Regions from separate parts of the Homo sapiens genome. Here region 1 is linked to region 2. Evidence: promoter capture Hi-C in 16 types of primary human blood cells and fetal thymus (Javierre and others, 2016). All regions are on one chromosome and are shown on one strand. Each heading gives the region's core, a stretch centred on a gene start or on the middle of the fragment in contact. The rest is flanking DNA. Distances are from core to core; before and after follow the strand shown. Region 1 overlaps RETREG3 (reticulophagy regulator family member 3). Region 2 holds the start of RAMP2 (receptor activity modifying protein 2).

Evidence for each region. The method cuts DNA at HindIII sites, captures the fragments that hold promoters and counts their contacts. A CHiCAGO score of 5 or more calls a contact.
Region 1: a fragment that was not itself captured here is called in contact with the fragment with the promoter of RAMP2 in region 2 in 1 of 17 cell types (erythroblasts); the score reaches 6.1 in erythroblasts.

Annotation. Positions count from the first base shown.
Region 1 is chr17:42,597,099-42,602,366 of GRCh38, forward strand. All of the region lies in intron 1 of RETREG3 (reticulophagy regulator family member 3), which reads right to left. Among named protein-coding and RNA genes, the nearest start is that of RETREG3, 9.6 kb to the right of the region's middle. The HindIII fragment of the contact is 4,096 bases long and covers 1-3,590 here.
Region 2 is chr17:42,758,699-42,763,538 of GRCh38, forward strand. RAMP2 (receptor activity modifying protein 2) reads left to right here and starts at 2,529. Exons shown (of 4, transcript NM_005854.3): 1 at 2,529-2,660; 2 at 3,136-3,201; 3 at 3,657-3,765; 4 at 3,899-4,343. The coding sequence starts at 2,564. The coding sequence ends at 4,154. It overlaps RAMP2-AS1 (RAMP2 antisense RNA 1), which reads right to left and starts at 2,559. Exons shown (of 6, transcript NR_024462.1): 1 at 2,182-2,559; 2 at 1,937-2,013; 3 at 1,728-1,815; 4 at 1,041-1,182. RefSeq lists a silencer at 2,643-2,732. The HindIII fragment of the contact is 18,952 bases long and covers 1-4,840 here.

The sequences.
Region 1 (5,268 bases), core at 293-2,792, 160 kb before region 2:
CCTGATCTCAAGTGATCCGCCCGCTTCGACCTCCCAAAGTACTGGGATTAGAGGCATGAGCCGCTGTACCTGGCCAGAAGAATCTATTTTTTCTTTTTTTTTTTTTTTGAGACGGAGTCTTAGCTCTGTCGCCAGGCTAGAGTGCAGTGGCGTGATCTTGGCTCACTGCAACCTCTGCCTCCCAGGTTCAAGCAATTCTCCTGCCTCAGCCTCCTGAGTAGCTGGGATTACAGGCATGCACCGCTACGCCCAGCTAATTTTTGTATTTTTAGTAGAGACGGGGTTGCACCATGTTAGCCAGGATGATCTCGATCTCCTGACCTTGTGATCCACCCACCTCGGCATCCCAAAGTGCTGGGATTACAGGAATGAGCCACCGCGCCCAGCCAGAATCTATTTTGTGTGTGTGTGTGTGTGTGTGTGTGTATATATATATATATATATTTCGTATATATATTTTTGTGTATATATATATTTTGTGTGTATATATATATATATATATATATATATATATATATATATTTTTTTTTTTTTTTTTTTTTTTTTTTTGAGACAGAGTCTCACTCTGTCACCCAGGCTAGAGTGCAGTGGCACAGATCTCCACTCACTTCAACCTCCGCCTCCAGGGTTCAAGTAATACTCCTGCCTCAGCCTCCTGAGTAGCTGGGGTTAAGGTGTGCGCCACTGCGCCCAGCTAATTTTTGTATTTTTAGTAGAGACGGAGTTTCGTCTTGTTGGCCAGGCTGGTCTCGAATCCCTGATCTCAAGTGATCAGCTCGCCTCAGCCTCCCAAAATGTTGGGATTACAGGCATAAGCCACCGCGCCTGGCCAAGAAACGTTATTTTATACCACAAAGAAAACTCTTCTTCCTCTGAAGTTTTTTTTTTTTTTTTTTTTTTTGAGACGGAGTCTCGCTCTGTTGCCCAGGCTGGAGTACAGTGGTGCGATCTCGGCTCACTGCAAGCTCCATCTCTCGGGTTCATGCCATTCTCCTGCCTCAGCCTCCCGAGTAGCTGGGACTACAGGCGCCCGCCACCACGCCCGGCTAATTTTTTGTATTTTTAGTAGAGACGGGGTTTTACCATGTTAGCTAGGATTGTCTCGATCTCCTGACCTCATGATCCACCCGCCTCAGCCTCCCAAAGTGCTGGGATTACAGACGTGAGCCACCGCACCCGGCCTCTTCCTCTGAAGTTATTATTGTGGCTTGTTCCAAAAAAAGATAAATCTGGGACTAAAATTGATTTATGGACAAGGATTAATCTTGTTATGGAAGATGCTCACAATTTTAGCCTTCAAGACCCAGAAAATATACCCTTTATGAAACTATTGGCTTATCTTCATCTGCAGGATGAAATCCCATTACCCCGTCATAAAAGGGCCTTCATGATCTGGATCCTGCCTCTCTCCCCACACTGATTCCCTCCCTTTGTTTTTTATATTTCAGTTTTATCAAACTACTTGCAATTCCTTAAGTATCTTACTAGATTGGTGTTTTCCCTATCTGAATGTCTTCTCTCTCTTACCACACCTTTCGGCCCCATTTCCTTAACATTTATCTTGCAAATCACAGCTTAGATATCTTCCTGTTTGTTATTATTACCTGTCACGTTATATCGTGAACACAAACACACATGAATTTACTTGAGAGTAAAGTTTGTGTCTTATTTTTTTCTGTAACTGGGCTTCTTACCACAAGGCCTTGGCATGTAACAGGTACTCAAAGGTATGTTGAATTGAATTGAAGCATAGCTTATAAGAATGGAAGGTAAGGGCTGTAACAAGCAATTTAAATAGTCCAGGTCTTAGAAAACAGTCTTTTTTTTTTAATGTTTACCAGTTTATTATAAGGGATATGTTTTTATTGCCATCATCTCTGGAAAACCAACCTTCTTAGGAGAGCTTAATATCCTTTCCCTACCCTAGTTTCTATTTGTGTTAGTAATCGTGCTCTGGGAAGGGGAAATTGCCAACAGTCTGGCAAGCCTCCCTAGAGAGCCCTTTCAAGTACTCTGGAGAAAACAGCGATGCCATGTGCTGCTGCTGGGGAAGGGAAGCAGCAGCACTGGGGAGCAAGAAACCCTAGAGCTCTTCTCCTTGGCCTTGTTAAATGTGCTTGTTTGTTGGGATGATGCACTGGCTTTAGAGAGAAGATCAATGGCCTGAGGCAGCTCTAGAGGCTTATTTCTGTTAAACTGCTTTTATTCTTTAATCTTACATATAGTCACAGTATCCTTTAGGTGGTAGGCTGGAAAAATTGAAATAGGGTTGTTGGCTGGGCACAGTGGCTCATGCCTATAATCCCAGCACTTTGGGAGCCTTAGGTGGGTGGATAACCTGAGATCGGGAGTTTGAGACCAGCCTAGCTAACATGGAGAAACTCCATGTCTATTAAAAATACAAAATTAGCCGGGCGTGGTGGTGTATGCCTGTAATCTCAGCTACTCAGGAGGCTGAGGCAGGACAATCGCTTGAACCCAGGAGGCAGAGGTTGCAGTGAGCTGAGATTGTGCCATTGCATTCCAGCCTGGGTGACAGAGTAAGGCTCCGTCTCAAAAAAAAAAAAAAAAAATTATACAACTAACATGAATTCATGTTTATCGAAAAAAAAGTACAGGCATGGTGGCTCACGTCTGTAATCCCAGCACTTTGGGAAGCCAAGGCAGGTGGATCACCTGAGGTCAGGAGTTCGAGACAAGCCTGGCCAACATGGCGAAACCCCGTCTCTACTAAAAATACAAAAAATTAGCTGGGCATAGTGGCGGGCACCTGTAATCCCAGCTACTCAACAGGCTGAGGTGGGATGACAGCTTGAGTCCGGGAAACTGAGGTTGCAGCGAGCCGTTATCGTGCCACTGTACCCCAGCCTGGGTGACAGAGCGAGACCCTATCTCAAAAAACAAAAAAGCAAAACAGAAAAAACCACCTAAACACTAACAAATTGGTTTGTGGGGAAAAAAAGAGTTTAAAAAAAAAACAACAAATAAAACCACACACAACAGGCCACATGTGGTACCTAAAGCCTGTAATCCCAATACTTTGGGAGGCCGAGGCAGGAGGATCACTTGAGTCAAAGAGTTTGAGACCAGCTTAGGCAACACAGCAAGACCTCATCTCTACTGAAAAGAAAAACATTAGCTAGGTGTGGTGGTGCACGCTTGTACTCCCATTTACTTGGGAAGCTGAGGTGGGAGGATTGCTAGAGCCAGAAGGTTGAGGTTGCAGTGAGCTCTGATTGTGCCACTGCACTCCAGCTTGGGAGACAGAGCAAGACCCTGTCTCGAAAAGAAAAAAAAAAGTATCATTTATGACATTTATAAGAAAATTGGAAATGTGAACACTGACTAGAATCATTAATTTTTTGCATGTGATAATGATGGCAGATGTTTCTTAAAGTCTCTTTTTCAGAAAAATATACTGAAATACCTAGATTAAATGATATGACACATCAATAATTTGTGTCAAACAATAAGGAAGACGTAGAAAAGAACTGGGGTATGGAAGACACAAAATTGGCCAGGAATTGAAAAAAATAATATTATGTACATGGTGGCACACAATATTATTCTGCCTACTTACACATGTTTTAAGCTTTCCATAATAAAATATTTTTAAAATGATCCATTATCCACATATGTACTCTAAAAAGTGTGAAGACAGGCTATTCTCTTCATTAAAAAATTCACATATAAAAACACTATGGTTTTAAAACTTTTTCACATAATACATAGACAATTAGCCTGATGTGGTGATGAACTCCTGTGGTCTCATCAGCCATGAGGTGGAATGATCACTTGAGCTCAGGAGTTCCAGGGTACAGTGAGCCATGATCACACCACTGCAATCTAGCCTGGGTGACAGAGTGAAACCTTCTCTCAAAAAAAACAATGAATGGGCCAGGCGCAGTGGCTCAAACCTGTAATTCCAGCACTTTGGGAGGCTGAAGCAGGTAGATCACTTGACATCAGGAGTTCAAGACCAGCCTGGCCAACATGGTGAAACCCCATCTCTACCTAAAAATACAAAAATTAGCTAGGCATGGTGGCGGGTGCCCGTAATCCCAGCTACTCAGGAGGCTGAGGCAGGAGAACTGCTTGAATCCGGGAGGCGGAGGTTGCAGTGAGCTGAGATTGTGCCACTGCACTCCAGCCTGGGCAACACAGGAAGACTCCATCTCAAATAAAATAAAATAAACTAAGACGGTGGCTCAAGCCTGTAATCCCAACACTTTGGGAGGCTGAGGCAGGCAGATCACGAGATCAGGAGATCGAGACCATCCTGGCTAACACGGTGAAACCCTGGCTCTACTAAAAAATACAAAAAATTAGCCGGGAGTGGTGGTGGGCGCCTGGAGTCCCAGCTACTCGGGAGGCTGAGGCAGGAGAATGGCGTGAACCTGAGAGGCGGAGCTTGCAGTGAGCCGAGATCGCGCCACTGCACTCCAGCCTGGGCAACAGACAGAGCGAGACTCTCTCAAAAAAAAAAAAGAAAAGAAAAATAAACGAAAAATAAACTAAGAAGGTTCCAACTTTTTTTTTTTTTTTTTTTTTGAGACGGAGTCTTGCTCTTGTTGCCCAGGCTGGAGTGCAGTGGCGCGATCTCGGGTCACCACAACCTCTGCCTCCCAGGTTCAACGGATTCTCCTGCCTCAGCCTCCCAAGGTAGCTGGGATTACAGGCATGCGCCACCATGCCCGGCTGATTTGGCATTTTTAGTAGAGATGGGGTTTCTCCATTGTTGGTCAGGCTGGTCTTGAATTCCCGACCTTAGGTGACCTGCCTGCCTCGGCCTCCCAAAGTGCTGAGAATTATAGGCATGAGCCACTGCGCCCAGCCAAAAGTTTCCAATTTTTTGATGTAATAAAAGCTGAACTATACATCACTGAGCATGTTACTGGGTCAAAGGCATTAACTATTTTAAACAAATAGCTTTATTGGTCGGGCACCGTAGCTCACACCTGTAATCCCAGCCTTTGGGAGGCCGAGGCAGGTGGGTCACTTGAGGTCAAGAGTTCAAGACCACTTTGGCCAACATGGTGAAACTCCATCTCTACTAAAAATACAAAAATCAGCCAAGACATGGTGGTGCACGCCGGTAGTCCCAGCTACTTGGGAGGCTGAGGCAGGAGAACTGCTTGAATCTGGGAGGCAGAGGTTGCAGTGAGCTGAGATCATGCCACTGCACTCCAGTCTGGGCCACAGAGTAAGACTCCGTTTCAAAAAAAAAAAAGTAAGAAAATAGCTTTATTGAGATAATGGTTTGTATAC
Region 2 (4,840 bases), core at 1,279-3,778:
CCTTTGGAGGTCTCAACATCATGATGCAAACTTAACCCCAACCCTAGGCTAAAAATAAAACTTCCCAAGGGCCAGGTGCAGTGGTTCATGCCTGGAATCCCAACACTTTAAGAGACTGATGCAGGAAGATTGCTTGAAGCCAGGAGTTCGAGACCAGCCTCGGCAAAAAAGCAAGACCCCCATATCTACAAAAAATATGCCTGCTGTCCTAGCTACTTGGGAGACTGAACCAGGAGGATCTCTTGAGCCTAGAAGCTCAAGACTGCAGCATGCCATGATTCTTCCACCGCACTCCAATGTGGGCAACAGAGTGAGCCCCTGTTCCTAAAAAGTAAAGTAAGATAAAAATAAAATAGGAACTTCCTACCAAGTTACCTATATTTTCTTTTTTGATCTTAAGGCCATTTTACATATGAAAATCTTGAGCTCCAGAGATGTGAAATAACCTGCTCAAGTTACTTGCAGTAAGACAGAGGCAGAACCTACCTTCAGAATCCTCATCAGTTTTTTTCTTTCATCCGTTATGATTATCCATTATCATTATGCCATATTGTCCTTTTTTTTTTTTTTTGAGATAGGGCACAATCACAGCTCTCTGCAGCCTCAACCTCTGGGGCTCAAGTGATCCTCCTGCCTCAGCCTCCCGAGTAGCTGGGACTACAGGTGCACACCACTATGCCAGGCTAATTTTTTAAAAATTTTTTTATAGTTTTTTTTTTGTAGAGACAGGGTTTCACTATGTTGCCCAGGCTCTATTTTAAATCTAACATTTGCTTTTGTCCCCTTTAATCTTGACCCCAACCCCAGTCCTAACCCATAGTGGGCTCATGTGCTTCTGGCCCCAACCCAGTGAAAATGGCTTGTTTTGCTTTCTGCACCTCCTTGCTCCTTCCTCCCATCTTATCACTCAGAAATCTCCCATGCTTCCTTCTTGAAAGGAGCAATCCTAGGCAGGCAGGAAGGACTAGATTTGGTCCCAGCCTGAAATGTCTCAGAGACTGCATGGCTCTTTTCTGCATCATTGTAGAAATGATCCTTACCAGGAGGACTTTGGAGTTCACGTCAAGCAGGCCATTGACTCTCTCCCACTGGATTCTTTGCAAAAGCAGCCTCTTGACCATAGAGGAGGACAACAGGTTATCCGTGCCCATGATCCAAGAGCTTGAGATCCTGAGATGAAGACTTCAGGAGAGATCAGGACAGATAATTTGTGGTGGGCAGGAATCAGTAAACTGGGACAACAGCAGCAGCTGAGTCCAAGGGTCAGTGTCTGGGAGTAATTTAGGAAAGTTTGGTGCTGACAGCTGTGTCTGGGACTTGAACGTCATGGCCAAACCAGCTCCTGGGCTCCTCAGCTGCTTCAGACTAATGAACCTCTGGCCCAGGACACAAGAAGCAGCTGTGGTGTGGCTGAAGTCAGGACCCCCGGAGGCCCAGACTCAGCCTTGCTGCTTCCTTAACAGTGTGACCTTAGATAAGTCACTTAGGAAAAGAGGAAAGGAAACTAGCATTTAGCGAGTGCAGTGCCCTTTCACAGCTGCCATCATACAGTGAGGAGGGGAATGTCCCTATTTCACATGAGAAGTCCTGAAGGTAAACGTGTCATTCAAGGCTCTATAGCTGGGGAGTAAGAAGACAGAATTAGAACCCAGAGCTTCTGAATTCAAATCCCGGGCTGTTGGCCCTGAGCTTTAGCTTCTCGGTCTGTAAAATGGTGTTACACTCACCTGGCACATGAAGTCGCACACTGAAGGTTCTAAAACCCCTCCATTCTTTCTCCCAACCGTGGTCCTGAAGAGCTGTGGCACCTTCTTCCTGGGAACGTAGTCATCGTATTTTGCCCTCCCCACAACAGGTTTGTGGGGTCTAGGCCCCAGGAGGTGTCTGAAGGGAAGGTATTTGGACTTTGCTTTCCCCTCTACCCCACTCCCCAGACCTTCTCCCGACTCCAGAGGGCTGGCTCCCGCTTCTCCTCCCTGGTTTTGGCTGGCGGACTGACATCAGCTGGTATTCCTAGGGATAGGATAAGGAACCCTGAGCTGCATGGCTCAGCTCCAGGCGCCCCTTCCCCCACAACCCAGGACAGCCCCTTAGAAGCAGCGGCGTCGAGAGGCCGCTGGAGCTCCCAGCCCCCTCCCTCTTCTCCACGTCTGGGAGAGCAGCTTGCCGACCCCTCCAGACCCGAAAGAGAGAGGGGGCGACTCGAATTCGGGGAGCGATCCTGGGAGACCCTGGAGAGTCCTGGGCGCCACGCAGCCGAGCCCCCGAAATAGATCCCGGTTCCGGGGTTCCGGGAGCTGTCCAGCCTCGCGGGGTGAGCTACGAGAGGGTGGGCCAACGCCGGCGAGGCGGAGGGAGCCGCGGGCGCCAGGCGCGGGTGAGGCAGCGACTCCCCCTCCAGCCGCGGGCCCCGAGCGTCGCCCCCGCCCCCCACGTGGCCGCCGCCGTCCCAGCCCCTCCGAGGAAGCGGCGCGGCTTCCTGCAGCTTGGGCTGGGGATATAGGCGCCCCCACACCCGGGCCCGGCTCAGCGCCGCCGCCGCTCCTCGCCTCCTTGCTGCACGATGGCCTCGCTCCGGGTGGAGCGCGCCGGCGGCCCGCGTCTCCCTAGGACCCGAGTCGGGCGGCCGGCAGCGCTCCGCCTCCTCCTCCTGCTGGGCGGTGAGCGCGGCGCCCCGAGGCCCGGGCGGGAGGCGCGAGAGGCCCCGGAGGGGAGAGGGGAGAGGGGAGAGGGGCTGGATGGCCGAGGCCGGAACGGGCCCTGGGGTGCGGGTTAGGACCGACGTACCTAGCAGCACTGGCCCTCGGACGGTCCCTGACCCCACCTCGGGGCGGGCGCAGCATGAGCTGCTTCCCACCCAGGGAAAGCTGGGGTGCTGGCCCCGGCCCCTCGAAGAGGGCTTAGGAGGACGGAAGCTGGCCAGAGATGAGGGGGCTTTGGGCCTGGGTGTGAGTGACAAGGAGCTGGTGCCAGCCCCTCCCTCCCCGGCACTGAGGCGTCCGTGGGGGCTAGATTATTCCTCCTTTTCTTCCAAGGTAGCCTATTTTCGGAGGGTCTCAGTCCCCCAACCCCCCTCGCAGGCTCCACTGCCGGGGTCCCCGCTATGTTACCCTCCTCTCCCGTTTCTTCCCACAGCTGTCCTGAATCCCCACGAGGCCCTGGCTCAGCCTCTTCCCACCACAGGCACACCAGGGTCAGAAGGTGGGTACCCAGGGTGTGGAAGGGTGGCCGAGGGTAAGGACGAGAGCAAGTTCAGTGGGGAGGGTTCCTTTCCCACGAGGCCTGCCCAACCCCAGCTGATGCCCCACTACACTCCCCTCTGTTCTTTCTTGGGGTTCCTCGTGGTCTTTCTCCCTGTCCTCCTACAAAGCCCCTGCACGGCTCTGAGCTGCCCACCTCACAAGTGGGCGAGAAGACCCCAGGAAAAGGTGTACGTGGAAGTTCTTATCAGGCTGGGATGGAAAGTGCTTAGCACATGGAAGTCATTATAGGATTCCTGAGCTGGGACTCTGTCCTCAGCCAGAATGTTTTGCTAGGGAAACTTTCTGAAGGGTTCCCACGTTTGAAGACAGGCAGTTCACCTTGCAAGCACCTGGGCAGGAGGGTTTGTAGGGAGGGGTAGGGGTGTGGTCATTGTGTAGCATCTGTACCTACAGGGGGGACGGTGAAGAACTATGAGACAGCTGTCCAATTTTGCTGGAATCATTATAAGGATCAAATGGATCCTATCGAAAAGGATTGGTGCGACTGGGCCATGATTAGCAGGTAGGGGCAGTGATGGAGGGTGGCTCAGGCCAGGGGGTGGACCTGCTCATTGCAGGTAGACCCTGAGTGAGAGTGGGGCACTCTTCTCCCTGGGTCCACCCCCTCTCTCACTCAAGTCCTCTTCTGCCCCTAGGCCTTATAGCACCCTGCGAGATTGCCTGGAGCACTTTGCAGAGTTGTTTGACCTGGGCTTCCCCAATCCCTTGGCAGAGAGGATCATCTTTGAGACTCACCAGATCCACTTTGCCAACTGCTCCCTGGTGCAGCCCACCTTCTCTGACCCCCCAGAGGATGTACTCCTGGCCATGATCATAGCCCCCATCTGCCTCATCCCCTTCCTCATCACTCTTGTAGTATGGAGGAGTAAAGACAGTGAGGCCCAGGCCTAGGGGGCCACGAGCTTCTCAACAACCATGTTACTCCACTTCCCCACCCCCACCAGGCCTCCCTCCTCCCCTCCTACTCCCTTTTCTCACTCTCATCCCCACCACAGATCCCTGGATTGCTGGGAATGGAAGCCAGGTGGGGTCATGGCACAAGTTCTGTAATCTTCAAAATAAAACTTTTTTTTTGTACAATGTCCTTCTCCCCATTTCAGTGGAACCTGTGTCCTTCCCTGCCACTGCCACAGGCCCTCAGCCCTGGGTAGTAGAACTGGAAAAATCTGGATGGCCCATTGTTCTGTTCATTTCACCTGCCCCCCTGCTCCCTGCCTCCATGAAGGTCACACCCCTATATTCTTTCCTCCCAGGCGGGCCTTTCCTGCCTATATCCAAACTCGGCTCCAGGAAACAAGCAGGAAGAGACTCCCTTCCGGTCTGGACAGCAGCTGGGGGCCTGCAACTGGGGAGGTGTGGGGGAAGGGGCAAGGGAGGAATCTCTGCTTGTGACTCCTGCAAGAGGAGCAGGAGGCTGCCCAGGAGCCCTGACTATTCCTCTTCTTCATGCTTCAGTTTACTCACAGGGCCTGGGAAGAGGAACCCTGACTGAGCAACAGGAATCCATTCCTAAGGCCCTCACAATTGAGGGAGAAAGCAGTGGGGGCTTCCTTTACTAGGTTCACCACCCCTCTCCA